Linked DNA regions of Homo sapiens: all the other regions are linked to region 2. Evidence: promoter capture Hi-C in human tissues and cell types (Jung and others, 2019). All regions are on one chromosome and are shown on one strand. The core of a region is centred on a gene start or on the middle of the fragment in contact, and the rest is flanking DNA. Distances in the headings are between cores, read along the strand shown. Region 1 overlaps USP48 (ubiquitin specific peptidase 48). Region 2 holds the start of RAP1GAP (RAP1 GTPase activating protein). Region 3 overlaps ALPL (alkaline phosphatase, biomineralization associated).

Region 1 (4,724 bases), core at 1,686-4,185, 78 kb after region 2:
TTAAGTCCCCAAGGAATATGGCAAGACTTGAGTTTGAGAGTCAGGGGCTAATGTTCAAAAATGAGGATCCCTCATTCTAAAGATGTCTGCATATCTGCAGTCTCACCATTTAAAGAAACAGGTGGATTCTCCTTTTAACAACAGATCTTCTTTTGGATCCATCTTTTGAGCTTTGCATGGATATGTGTGTACAGATTTGTGTGGTTATGTGTGGGTACGGGAAAATATAAATACTAATTATCTGGATGACAAAATTACATATGGTTTGTATTTCTTTTCTTTATGCTTTCTGAATTTCCCAAATTATCTAGAACAAATCCTATGCAATTAACAAAAGTTAATTGTTTTTAGTCTTCTACCTATATAAGGTACAGCAAGCATTACGACAGCGTGTAAAAGACAAGCCTATAACTATAAACCACTAGATTGCTTTTACCAGTCCTAACAATTCTAAAATGAGTAGATAATATTTATTTATTTATTTATTCATTCATTTATTTAAAAATTAAGGAGACAAACATGGTGGCTCATGCCTGTAATCCCAGCACTTTCGGGAGGCTGAAGTAGGAGGATCACTAGAGCCCAGGAGTTCAAGACCCCGTCTCTAAAAAAAAATAACTAAAAATTAGCTGGGCCTGGTGGAATATGCCTGTAGTTCCAGCTTGAGCCCAGGAGGCTGAGTCCGTGATGAGCCGTGATCACATCAATGCAATTTATAGCCTGGGCGACAGAGCCAGACCCTGTCTCAAAAACAAATTAATAAAAAATAAAAAATACTATATTTAGTAAACCAACATACCAAAATTAAGTATTTCTACAGGTTTTGATCTAACACGTCCTTTTGATAAATATTTTCTTTATAGCATAAACTGGGCAAATATATAATAAACTTAGTAAGTAGTAATAGTAACAATTCAAACTCATCCAGTCAAGTCAAGCAAAGTGCTCATTTCACATCTCCTAAGTTTCTGGACTGGGAAGCCACTAACCCATTAGATTTTCCTCAATTTCAATTGCCTGAACAAAGGAGGCAGGAAGCAAACTACTACATAAAGTGAACTATAGCTAAGTTTATTTATTCAACAAAATTTAACAATCTAACATTGAAGTCCAAAACTGAAGTTGAAAACAGTTTCCTTGTTCCACAGAGGTACAAATTTTAAAGTACAGTACTGAAGAGTATCATACATTTGAAAGCTTACATATTTATTTAGCACATTCCTCCCCAACTTTCCCAATCATGTCTCTTAAAGGTTTTTACAGCTTGCTTCCATTGTAAGCTGCCTCCAGAAATGTCTCTTAAAGGTTTTTACAGCTTGCTTCCATTGTAAGCTGCCTCTAGAAATTTTTTATTTTTTTGGAAAGAGATAGAGTTTATAAAATAATTTCTACATTAAAAATTTCAGGTTGGGGGCAGTGGCTCACGCCTGTAATCCCAGCACTTAGGGAGGTCAAGGCAGGTGTCCCACTTGAGGCCAGGAGTTTGAGACCAGCTTGGCCAACACGGCAAAACCCTAAAGTGCAAAAATTAGCTGGGCTCCCTTGTAGCCTCCCAGCTACAAGGGAGGCTGAGGTTGCAGTGAGCTGAGATCGTGTCACTGCACTCCAGCCTAGGCAACAGAGCAAGACTCCGTCTCAAAAATACATACATACATACATAATATTTTATAAGTACTACAATCAACCTTAAAGGGAAGTAAAACAGTCCTTTCTCTAGTAAGACTCAACCTGTTTGGTAGGATGAAGACTACCAAAAGAAAAAAGCAGTACTTATTTCTTGTTAAAACAATGATAGCATCCTAGGGCGTATCAGTAGTTGCAGATATGAAAAATGAAAGCATAAATACTGGAATTATGCCACCTAATGTTTCTGGGACAACGTTTTTAAAAAAGTGAATAGAGGCGCTTGGAGACTGTTAGTTTTGAGAAATGATAAATAATAGTATTGAAACTAAGGTGGCAAGTGCGGGTTCAGAAACAGTAAAATACCTTTTTCATTTTTTACAAATTATTTTTATACCCTTAATTCTGTACATATCGATGAACCACCTCATCTTTGCTATATGCTTACTCACACAAAATGGAATTAACATCTTGGCTCTCCTAAAAAAGTCTTTGTTCCCAGACAGAGGTTCCCAGAGAGAGATTAGCAAACAAAAATTGGCAATTGACTGCTATTCTATATTAATCACAAGCCGATCACAAGTTAGAGTCTCTGAGCATTATAATGTTTACTCCTCAGTAAAAATATTACCTTTATGTTCCACATAAGGCTCCATATCCAAAATTTCTGAGAAGCCAATGTAGGTATTCAGCTTTTTCTTATGTCCAGTTTGCCTAACCAAGAGGAAAGCTGATTATATTTACATTTAAAACAATCATAATACAATATATAAGCTCTATTAGCTATTTTAATAAACTCAACAGTAGCTAGCTTTCACTTCACAATCTTCCTCCAAAACATGTACAATTAGAAGTAAACAGAATATTGTTTTATAGCTGGACAAATATGAGGTTAAAAAATGTGAATGCGAAGTGCTGATTCCAAACACAGCTTATTTTCCAGAAGTTTCAACTTAATCACAAAACAGATTATCCTGCTTTACAGAAGACATGCACATGTGCAAACATTGCCTTGATTTTAATTATAAAATGAAAAATACATTCCCATGGCGGGGGTGTAATGAGTACAAAATTTATTCTATTTAAAATAAAGGACAATACAGAAGGTCAGGGTAATTCAATTACTTGCAGTTTTTCTTTCTTTTTTTTTTTCCAAGACAGAGTTTCACTCTTGTTGCCCAGGCCGGAGTACAATGGTGCAATCTCGGCTCACTGCAACCTCCGCCTCCTGGGTTCAAGTGATTCTCCTGCCTCAGCCTCCCCAGTAGCTGGGATTACAGGCGCCTGCCACCACGCCCGGCTAATTTTTGTATTTTTAGTAGAGACGGGGTTTCACCATGTTGGCCCGGCTGATCTCGAACTCCTGACCTCAGGTGATCCACCTGCCTCAGCCTCCCAAAGTGCTGGGATTACAGGCGTGAGCCACCGCACCCGGCCCTTGCAGTTTTTAATACTTTCTTAGAATAAAAAAAGTAAGGATTTTTTACTTTTCTAGTTATCATTTATATATGGTTGGCTTCTTTAAAATTTTTTATGATAAAATCATGAAATATCGACATTTCAAAATGACAGCCTCCATCTATAACTTTCATCCTCAAATCTAGAGTTTCAAATTACAACCATTTTATCATCTCATCTATGGTAAAGTCTGTACATAGTAGACCACAATGAACAACAAACACTAATATTTGCACACATTTACCTGTCAAAGACAAAACGCATTAGCTGCAAGTTCAGAGTGCAAGGAAGGCTAAGAAGTCGAATCTTTCTTGTTGCATTCTGTTTGCTTTGACAGTTCTCGCAAAAATAGCGATTGTCTCCTTCTAATTTTTCTTCCTGATCAAGAATAAGACATATTAATTTTAAAAAGAAGATGGGTTTAAAACAAGTGATAAAACCCTTGATGTAAAGTATAATTTCATTTCAGTTAATAGCTCTCACTTAAGCTACTTAAAAACAGCTACTATAAATAATGGACACACAAAAGTAATGGGAACTGTTCAGCAGTGACATTATCAATTTGAATACACTGATATTTAAAACTGATGTGCCTATTTCCCAAATGTATGATATTAAAAATACTTGTTTTAGGTTCTTTGTCCTGGTAATCCCACTTCTGGGAATTCTAAAGTAAGTTTTAAAAAGAAATGTCACATGTATTTTGATGCAACATTCATTTAAAGACAGCAAAAAGGCTGGGCAACATGGCTCACGCCTGTAATCCCAACACTTTGGGAGGCCGAGGTGGGTGGATCACTTGAGGCCAGGAATTCGAGACCGGCCTGGCTGCCCAGGTGAAACCCCGTCTCTACTAAAAATACAAAAATTAGCCAGGCATGGTGGTACACACCTGTGGTCCCAACTACTCGGGAGGCTGAGACACAAGAATCACTTGAACCCGGGAGGTGGAGCTTGCAGTAAGCTGAGATCACACCTCTGCACTCCAGCCTGGAAACAAAGCGAGACTCTGTCTCAAAAAAATGAAGAAAAAAACAGGAGGGAGGAGGGTAGTGTAAAAACGATATATGGGCACCAGAATACAAAATTATATACATATTTGTTTAAAATTACTGAAACATATTCATGAGACAAAGCTAAAAAGAGACGTGTAGAAAAATCAAACATTTTAGCTGATAGTGGTTTCTTTTTAAAATTTGCCTTTATATTTCTATAAAGCTAATTGCAGCCAATCATAGCTAACCGAAGACTCAAACTCCTGAGCTCAAGCTTTTGTACCATATTGTACTTACCATATTGTAAGTAATGCAATACTGGTACCATCATCTCTTCACTTGGCTTCCAGGATACCACACTCACTGACTTGCCTCCTAATTCACTGGCATTCCTCCAGGGACTCCTGTGCCAGCTGCTCCTACCTCCCTGATCCCTAACATTTGAATGTCCCAGGCCTCAGTCCTTGTCTCTCTCCCACTCCCTTGGGGATTTTATCCAGCCACGACTTCTTCCTGGAACTATACCTCTCAAACGTAACATGCTCAAAGCCAAACTCCTAATTCCTCTCAACCCTGCTCCTCCCAGGTCCTCCCTATCTCAGTTAGAGCAACTCCATTCTTTCAGTTGATCAGGCCAAAAACCTTAGT
Region 2 (4,406 bases), core at 1,453-3,952:
CCTCCCCGGGTGATGAAGCATTAACATCCCACACGCAGGAAGCTGATGTAATTCATGCGTGTGTGCACCCATGATGGCCTGGGTGTGGGTGGGTGCATGTGCGTGTCTGCCAGGTTCATTTTTAAGGGCGTAGGGCATCCTCGTGTTCTTCCTGCATGCGCGTGTACCATGTGTGCACCCTGGAGGAGATAATGGAGGCAGACGACAGAAGACGAGGGCTTCTGAAAAGGCTCTTCTCCTTGCTGACAACCTCCGTCTCTCTGTGTGTACACACGTGCCAGCATCTGGATGGTGTGACTCTCAGTGCTTGTGTGTCAGGCAGAGTCGGGGGCAGGGGTCTTGGCCTGGGTGTGCCCGTGTGTTCCTGTGTCTGGGTCTCAGGGTATCTGTCAGTCTAACTGTATTTGCGTTTGTGTCTGGCCGTGCTCAGGTCTCGGTTGTTTGCACAGCACATGCGGCTGCTCAGCAGCCTCTGACAGCCAGGACAAAGGCCTCCGTAGACAGATGGCAGCATGGAGGACAGATCTGCCCGAGGAGTCCTCAAAGGGCCTCTTGGCCCCAGAATTTGACAGCAGGGCAGGGGCAGGGCCAGGTGAGAGGGAGGTGGAGGCCCTGCTGTGGGAGCCTGAGGCCTAAGTGGCAGAGACCTCTCTCCCTGCTGCCCTCCAAGAGGCCAAAGGAAGAATCCTTCTTGTCTCCTAAGGGTGGAAGGTAGTTAGAGCCAGGAGAGGGGCCTCCTGAGACCCCTGCCAGGCAGGCACCTTGGGAAGAAGAGAAGAGGAGAGGGCTTTGCCCAAGCAAGCTGGGAAGGTCCCAGGGTGAAAGCACCATTATGGTGCTCCACGGGACAACCCTCCCTCCATGGGAAGGGGTGGCAAGGCAAGCCTAGGACTCTGGACCCTCTCCTCAACCTGACCCAGCTTCCAGCCACAGGCACCCTCACCTCCTGGCAGCAAAGGGGAGCAGGTCCACATGGACCACTCCACCACGGCGTTCACCCTTCCTCCTCTCCACCGCTGTGGAGATCTTCTCCCATCAAGAGTCAGAGTACCACGATTCTAGACCTTGCTGAAGGTGACTAGGTGACCTCAGGCAGTTCATTTAGCCTCTCCGAGCCTCAGTTTCCTCACCTGTGCAATGGAGGCTTCAGCGCCTGCCCTGAAATATTGCTGTGAAGGGGGAAATTGCTCGTGCCACCTGAGGATTAATCATTACCCTGGAACCCTTCCCAAGGCCATCAAGGAACACGCACCCCTTACCAGACCTTCCAGCTGCTGGGGGCTCTCAGAGTGAGGCTGAGGTCATGGAGAAGGGAATGGGGGGCCCCCATGGCCAGCTGGACCTGATCACTGCCTCCCCACTCAGCCACAGCCCTCAGGGCCCTGTGCCAGTCCAGAAGCCCATTCAGGGACACCTTTGGCCAATGTTCTGTTTCATCTGCGAGGCAACCTTCCCCAGTGCCCCAACCATAGCGTTTTCCCCCAAACACCCTCAGGAAGGAGGGACCACTACCTGTGCAGGGGGGGCCAGGAGCCTCCTGAGAGCCTCATATGGGGAGGAAGTGGTACCATCTCACCCCCATTGCCTTTCTCTCCTACTTCCACCTGGCCAGCTTCCCTCAGTGCCCCTCCTGCCTCAGTGCCCCTTCCCTCAGTGTCCTTCCTGCCTGCCGCCCCAGGGGCCTGACCTCTGACTTGGCAGGGAGGGGAATGGAGCCCGGGGACAGAGGCCAATGAGCCCTGAGAACAGTGGATGTTCTTCCTGACCCCACCACCGGGCCTGTGCTATGACCCCAACAAGGACTCCGAGGGCATGCACAGGCTGGGGTCTGTTATGGTAGGGAGGGGGCCGCTCACCTCCGGAGACTGTGTGTGTGTGCAGGTGTGCGTACACAAGGTTTCTTCCCCAAGCCCAGGCGCCCCGCAGCTGGCACCAAACCCTGCAGGGCACGGAAACCGCCCCGTGAATTCCCACCGAGTCCTCAGATCCTGCCGAGCCAGGGGAGGCGACGAGGGGGCGCCCAACTTCGTGACGCGTGTGCCCCGCTCTGCCGCGGGGGTCAGGGACAGGGGAATGCGTCCTGTCTCTGGGGATGCAAGGACATCACCGCCCTCCCCGCTCAGGGTCCTTGATCTGAGGCCCCCACTTCCCTCCTCTGAGGACAGGAGCGCCACCCTCTGGGGGGCGCTAGGGCTTGGGCCCCTCCCCAGGGATGGAGGAAACGCGCCCACTTCCCACAGTCCCTCCTCTAAACCCCAGGCGCCCCCACCTCGAGGTGGGCGGAAAACTGGACTCCCCACCCACCCAGGGGGGTGGGACCAAAGCCCCCTGGCCGCGGCCTGGACCAAGTCCAACAGGCTGGGGGTTCAGCCGGCTCAGTCCAGGCCTCCCCCCACTTCTCCAGCTGCTGTCAAGACCGGGCTGCGCGAGCCCAGCTGCGCCCACCCCTCGCCCCTGGAGACCCGGGTCCCCCACGCGTTCGCCCCCACCCTCCGTCCCCGCCCGCCCGCGCGGGGTCTTCGCTGCGAGCCGACGGGAGTCTGGACACCTCTGTCCCCTTCCCCTTTCCAGGGCCGCAGCCCTGGCGGGGCGCACTCACCCAAGGGCCTGGGCCGGGGGCGTCCTGGGCTCGGCACTCTGGTGCCCGCGGCCGCCGCTGCAGCTCTGCTCAGATGCGGCCGGCGCTCGCCGCCGCCGCAGTTCGGGGAGGGGGACGTCACATGACCGCGGAGCGCTCCTTCCCCGGCGCCGCTCCCCACTCACTGCGGAGCCCAAGCCGCGGGCGCGGGAGCGGCGGGGAGGCCCCCGCCCTGCCGCCCCGCCCCGCCGCAGGTCCTGGAGGAGGGTTCTCGGTGCCCCCATTTTACAGGTGGGGAAACTGAGGACCAGAGAGGGGCAGGGACTGGCTCAAGGTTACACAGCTAGACAGTGGCAGAACCTGGGCGACAGCCCAGCTGTCCAGGCAACAGCTCATGCTCCAAGGGGACTGGGACAACTTCTGGATCAAGTGGAGACGTCGGGATAGGTGGGGCCCACGGCCCCCATGGGCTCCGCTTGTCTGCAGGCGCGGGAGGAAGGCGCACAGGCTTCGCTGGGCGAGAAAGCTGCTGTGCCCTGGCTGACGCCCTCCTCACCCGGGCGCTCGGCGCGCTTCCTGGCAGAGGCCACGCGGTTGACCCTCGCCAGCCCATTCGCGGCTCTTGGACTTTGTCTCTGGACTGGGCAGCTCGCCCCCGCCCCAGCCTAACCCGGGCCCAGGGCGGGTGTGGGGAGGGGAGCCACAGGCTACGGAGAAGTGGAAGGGAGGCACCCGGAAGAGAGTGGGATCAGAACAAGAGTGAAAACCCAGGCAGGGAGGGGGCGGCAGAGATCACCTCGGCCTGACTTCCAAGGCCCAGGGAGAGTTAGAGACTTGCCCAAGGTCCACAGCAAGTGAGCGGCCTGCCCACTCGAGTCCCTTCTTTGATGGTCAACAGAGCCTGAGGCTCCTGTGCCCCACTCCCCACCAAGGGGGAGCCCTCACCCACACCTCTTTCTGTTCTCCACTGAGCTCCCTCCCCGGGGAACAGCCCACATGAAGCAAAGAAACACGCAGTGGGTCGGCAAGGCCAGAACTGGGGACAACGGGTGAGGGGTATGGTTGGTGGCTCCAAGGTCATGAACTCGTCACAGAACACTCGTGTTCCAGGGGGATCTCTGAAATCTCTGGATCTCACCCCAATGTTCTAAGAACTGGGAAAACAGGCTGCAAAAGGTACAAAGACAGACCTCTTTCTCAACCATTTCGAATTGGTGGGTCAAGCCGACAGGGCCCTCCAAGGTCAACAAGTCCAATAGGCCCACTTGACAGATAATATTTAGGGAGGGGAAAGTCCAAGACATGTACTCAATATATTTCTTGAGCATCTACTGTGTGCTTAAAACCACAACTGTTACTTCCAGCTCCCACTATTTTCCCGGCCACATGGGCTGCATTTCACAAAAGGAAAGATCCGAGGTCTTCAGCAACTCTTACATCAGCCTCTGGAGGATCTGAGACATGCAAGCCTCCGGGTTTTCAGTCCCATAGGGGCTGGGGACCAGAGCCATGTTTTCCGGTCAAGACTCTAATCCCCGTGGAGAAAAGGTGAATAAGGGGGAATAGCAGGAAATGCCCCACCCTCTTCCCACGCATCCACCCACCTGTGAAAGGGCAGAGGGGAAGGTAGATCAGGCACTTGTTCTTTTCAGTCCTCCCTCCAGCAAGCTTCCCTAGCTGTATATGGGAAAGAGACCCCAGCCCAGGGGGGTTTCTCAAACTTCTAAGAGTGCAGGAGCGGTCTGTAGACTCAGATTCAGATTCAGTGGGCCTGGAGCCTGAGCTCCTGCATTTATAATGAAGCTTCGTGGCTGCAGACATCCTGAGC
Region 3 (4,188 bases), core at 863-3,362, 120 kb before region 2:
AGAGAGGTACATGCGATGTTTGAGGTGGCATGAAGCTCAGTGGTGTTATATTGGAATGAGTGAGTGACCATCCTGGAGCCTTCCTGAAAGAGGTGACTTCATTTTTAAGTGATTTTAAATAATAGTTTAATGAATTAGTATTTCGTATTCAGTTAATAACATTTTTCTGATTTTAGGATTTGCTATAGAAATATTTGGAAACCGTAAAGTAGAACAAAAAAAAAAATGTAGGAATCATCTGAAATTCCAAATTCTACCACTCACAGTTAAGTGTTGTTAGATGTTAGATGTGGGATATTGCCTTTTAATTTCCACTCTGCGCCGCTACCCCCAGCCCCTACCCCAGAGCCGTCACTTCTGGCACTGGAGCGCAGCTTGCGTGGTTTTTTTTTTTTTTTTTTTTTTTTTTGAGACAGAGTCTCGCTGTCGCCCAGGCTGGAGTGCAGTGGCGCGATCTCGGCTCACTGCAAGCTCCGCCTCCCGGGTTCACGCCATTCTCCTGCCTCAGCCTCCTGAGTAGCTGGGACTACAGGCGCCCGCTACCTCTCCCGGCTAATTTTTTGTATTTTTAGTAGAGACGGGGTTTCACTGTGTTAGCCAGGATGGTCTCGATCTCCTGACTTCGTGATCCGCCCGCCTCGGCCTCCCAAAGTGCTGGGATTACAGGCGTGAGCCACCGCGCCCGGCCATTTGCGTGTTTTTAAGGTTGAATCAAGATCCTTCTTCTGGTGGTAGTGGTTTCTTTTTCTCCCTTCCCTTCCCTTCCCTTTCCTCCCCTTCCCTTTCCTCCCTCCCCTCCCCTCCCCTCCCTCCTTCCTTTTCTCCTTTTCTTTTTCTCTATTTTTAAATTAAAAAAAAAAATCTTGGATGGGCGCGGCAGCTCACACCTGTAATCCCAGCACTTTGGGAGGCCAAGGTGGGCAGATCACCTGAGGTCGGGAGTTCGAGACCAGCCTGACCAACATGGACCCCATCTCTACTAAAAATACAAAATTGGCCGGGCATGGTGGCGCAAGCCTGTAATCCCAGCCACTCGGGAGGCTGAGGCAGGAAAATTGCTTGAACCCGGGGGGCGGAGGTTGCAGTGAGCCGAGGTTGTGCCATTGCACTCCAGCCTGGGCAACAAGAACAAAACTCCGTCTCAAAAAAAAAAAAAAGAAAAAGAAAAAATCTTTTTCCTTTGAGCTGGAGCTGCAAAGAGAAGAATTTTTAAAAAGAAAAGAAACTTTTAAAAAATTAAAATACAAAAATTTTTCTTAGAGACAGGGTCTCGCTGTGTTGCCCAGGCTGGTCTCCAACTCCAGGCCTGAAGCGAACTTCCTCCAGCCTCAGCTTCCCAAGTAGCTGGGATTACAGGCATGTTACCACCATGCCTGGCTTTTTTTCTTTAAACAACTTTTAAAAAATGTTTTATTTTGTTTTTACTTAACATATAATAATTGGACTAGAGTGGTGTCTTATCTGTCACAACACTTTTCTAACGGTAGAGTGTGTATTACTGCTGTTTCCCACAACAAATGGTGTCATATCTTGGTTTTGGCTGAAGCAATAACATTTCCCAGTGAAACTCTTGCCACTTAAAATTCTTTGTCTTGTAACTCATGTGCAACAGGGTTAGTACATTTCTCAGCTGCCAGTGGGGTTGTTCTTTGTGATTTAACAGGAAGACCACAGTGTAAAAACATTCTTATGCCATTAATACATGCTTGTTTTAGGCTACTTGGAAAATTCAAAAAAATAAAGAGGAAATAATCATTCATAGTCCTACCACCCAGAGAAAACCACAGTTAATGTTTTGGTGTATTTCCTTCCAGTTTTTTTTTCCACCTAAACTCTTCAATTACATCCGACTTTAAATATATATATATTTTTTAAAAATTGTAAAGATAATACTGTATCTCAGCACAAAAGAAAATTTTGGAAATGCAGAAAAGACAATGGAAAAGAAAAATCAGTTGTCTGTGATGTCACCACCCAGAAATGGCCACACTTACCAGCCAGTTTTTTCACATATGTGACTCCTACCATTTTTATATCTCTTACCATAAACGACAAGCTCTAGAAGAGAATGTAGCAAATGTAGGGGTCCTGAAAGAAGGGGTGCACTCTGTTTTGTCCCTGATGTTCCTGGGACACAGGTAATTAAAAGGCTGAAGACCGAGTGCTGTAGAACAGGGCTTCTCAAGGTGTGGTCCGCAAAGCAGCAAAGCAGCAGCTTCTCCTGGGAGCTTATTAGAAATACAATCGGAGCCTCACCAGTGGGCCGGGAATCTGTTGTAACAAGCCCTTGGGGGATTCAGATGCTTGCTCTCCTTACAGTTTGAGAAACACTGCACCAAAAGATTGGACTCTGGGAGGTAGGGGGCTTCAGATGAATTGAAAGTGGAAATTCACTTAGGAAATGGGACGGAACTGCTTTGCAGCATGGAACTCATTGACACTGACACAGCTGTTTGTGTGGTTAAGCTTCCTGAGACAGGGACCAGCTGGGTTTGGCATCCCAATGTTGAGCCCCATGCCTGGTCTGTAATAGGTGCTCACCGAATACTTGTTGAATGAATCAAGGAATGAATAAGTGAGTGAAAAAGGATCTCTAGAGCTGTGCCCCACATGCCTCTTTTTCTCTTTTTTTAATTTCTAGGATTGGAACATCAGTTAACATCTGACCACTGCCAGCCCACCCCCTCCCACCCACGTCGATTGCATCTCTGGGCTCCAGGGATAAAGCAGGTCTTGGGGTGCACCATGATTTCACCATTCTTAGTACTGGCCATTGGCACCTGCCTTACTAACTCCTTAGTGCCAGGTATGCTTGGGGACACAGGTGGAGGCATAAAAAGGTGGTGCAGATGGGGTATGATGAGGGCAGTGTCTATGTTTTAAGGTCCCAGAACCATCCAAAGTATTTAAGAGCTGAAAACAGTGTTCAGAGCAGGAAACCTCAGCCCTGCTACTTGCATGTGTTAGTTGGATAGGTCACTCTTTTCCCATATATATATATATACACACATACACATATATGAAATATATATATACAAGGAAAATATATATATACAAGGAAATATATATTTTCCACATATATATTTTTCCATATATATATTTCATATATATATTTTTCCATATATATATTTCATATATATTATATATATTCTTTCTTAATTTTTTTTTTTTTGAGACAGGGTTTCGCTCTGTTGCCCAAGCTAGAGTGCAGTGGCGCCATCTTGGCTCACTGCAAGCTCTGCCTCCTGGGTTCACGCCATTCTCCTGCCTCAGCCTCCCAAGTAGCTGGGACTACAGGTGCCCGCCACCGCGCCAGGCTAATTTTTTGTATTTTTAGTAGAGATGGGGTTTCACCGTGTTAGCCAGGATGGTCTCGATCTCCTGACCTCATGATCCGCCTGCCTCGGCCTCCCAAAGTGCTGGGATTACAGGCGTGAGCCACCGCGCCTGGCCTGTCTGTCTGTCTGTCTGTCTGTCTGTCTTTCTTTCTTTCTTTCTTTCTTTCTTTCTTTCTTTCTTTCTTTCTTTCTTTCTTTCTCTCTTTCTTTCTTTTTCTTTCTTTCTTTCTTTCTCTTTTCTTTCTTTCTTTCTTTCTTTTCTTTTTCTTTCCTTTCTTTCCTTTCTTTTCTCTCGCATCCGAGTGAAGAGACCACCAAACAGGCTTTGAGTGAGCAACAAGGCTGTTTATTTCACCTGGGTGCAGGCGGGCTAAGTCCAAAAAGAGAGTCAGCCAAGGGAGATATGGGTGGGGCCGTTTTATAAGATAGGGGTAGGTAAAGGAAAAATTACAGTCAAAGGGGGGTTCTCTGGCGGGCAGGAGTGGGGGTCACAAGGTGCTCAGTGGGGGAGCTTTTTGAGCCAGGATGAGCCAGGAGAAGGAATTTCACAAGGTAATGTCGTCAGTTAAGGCAAGGACCGGCCATTTTCACTTCTTTTGTGGTGGAATGTCATCAGTTAAGGTAGGAACAGACCATTTAAATTTCACTTCTTTTGTGATTCTTCAGTTACTTCAGGCCGTCTGGATGTATATGTGCAGGTCACAGGGGATATGATGGCTTAGCTTGGGCTCAGACGCCTGACACTTTCTTTTTGAGACAGAGACAGACTCTCACTCTGTTTGCCCAGGATGGAGTGCAGTGACGTGATCTCAGCTCACTGCAACCTTCGCCACCCAGGTTCAAGTGATCC

Evidence for each region. Contacts are between HindIII fragments. The study calls those that stand out against the background at their distance.
Region 1: a fragment that was not itself captured here is called in contact with the fragment with the promoter of RAP1GAP in region 2 in 2 of the 25 tissues and cell types used here (IMR-90 fibroblasts and pancreas).
Region 3: a contact is called between a fragment that was not itself captured here and the fragment with the promoter of RAP1GAP in region 2, in 4 of the 25 tissues and cell types used here (H1 embryonic stem cells, heart right ventricle, liver and 1 more).

Annotation. Positions count from the first base shown.
Region 1 is chr1:21,744,813-21,749,536 of GRCh38, forward strand. USP48 (ubiquitin specific peptidase 48) reads right to left here. Exons shown (of 27, transcript NM_032236.8): 7 at 3,326-3,459; 8 at 2,255-2,337. Among named protein-coding and RNA genes, the nearest start is that of USP48, 36 kb to the right of the region's middle. The HindIII fragment of the contact is 4,676 bases long and covers 598-4,724 here.
Region 2 is chr1:21,666,655-21,671,060 of GRCh38, forward strand. It overlaps RAP1GAP (RAP1 GTPase activating protein), which reads right to left and starts at 2,703. Exons shown (of 25, transcript NM_002885.4): 1 at 2,600-2,703. RefSeq lists a silencer at 2,625-2,774 and an enhancer at 3,423-4,406. The HindIII fragment of the contact is 12,626 bases long and covers 1-4,406 here.
Region 3 is chr1:21,551,337-21,555,524 of GRCh38, forward strand. It overlaps ALPL (alkaline phosphatase, biomineralization associated), which reads left to right. Exons shown (of 12, transcript NM_000478.6): 2 at 2,642-2,806. The coding sequence starts at 2,746. Among named protein-coding and RNA genes, the nearest start is that of LINC02596, 33 kb to the right of the region's middle. The HindIII fragment of the contact is 6,989 bases long and covers 1-4,188 here.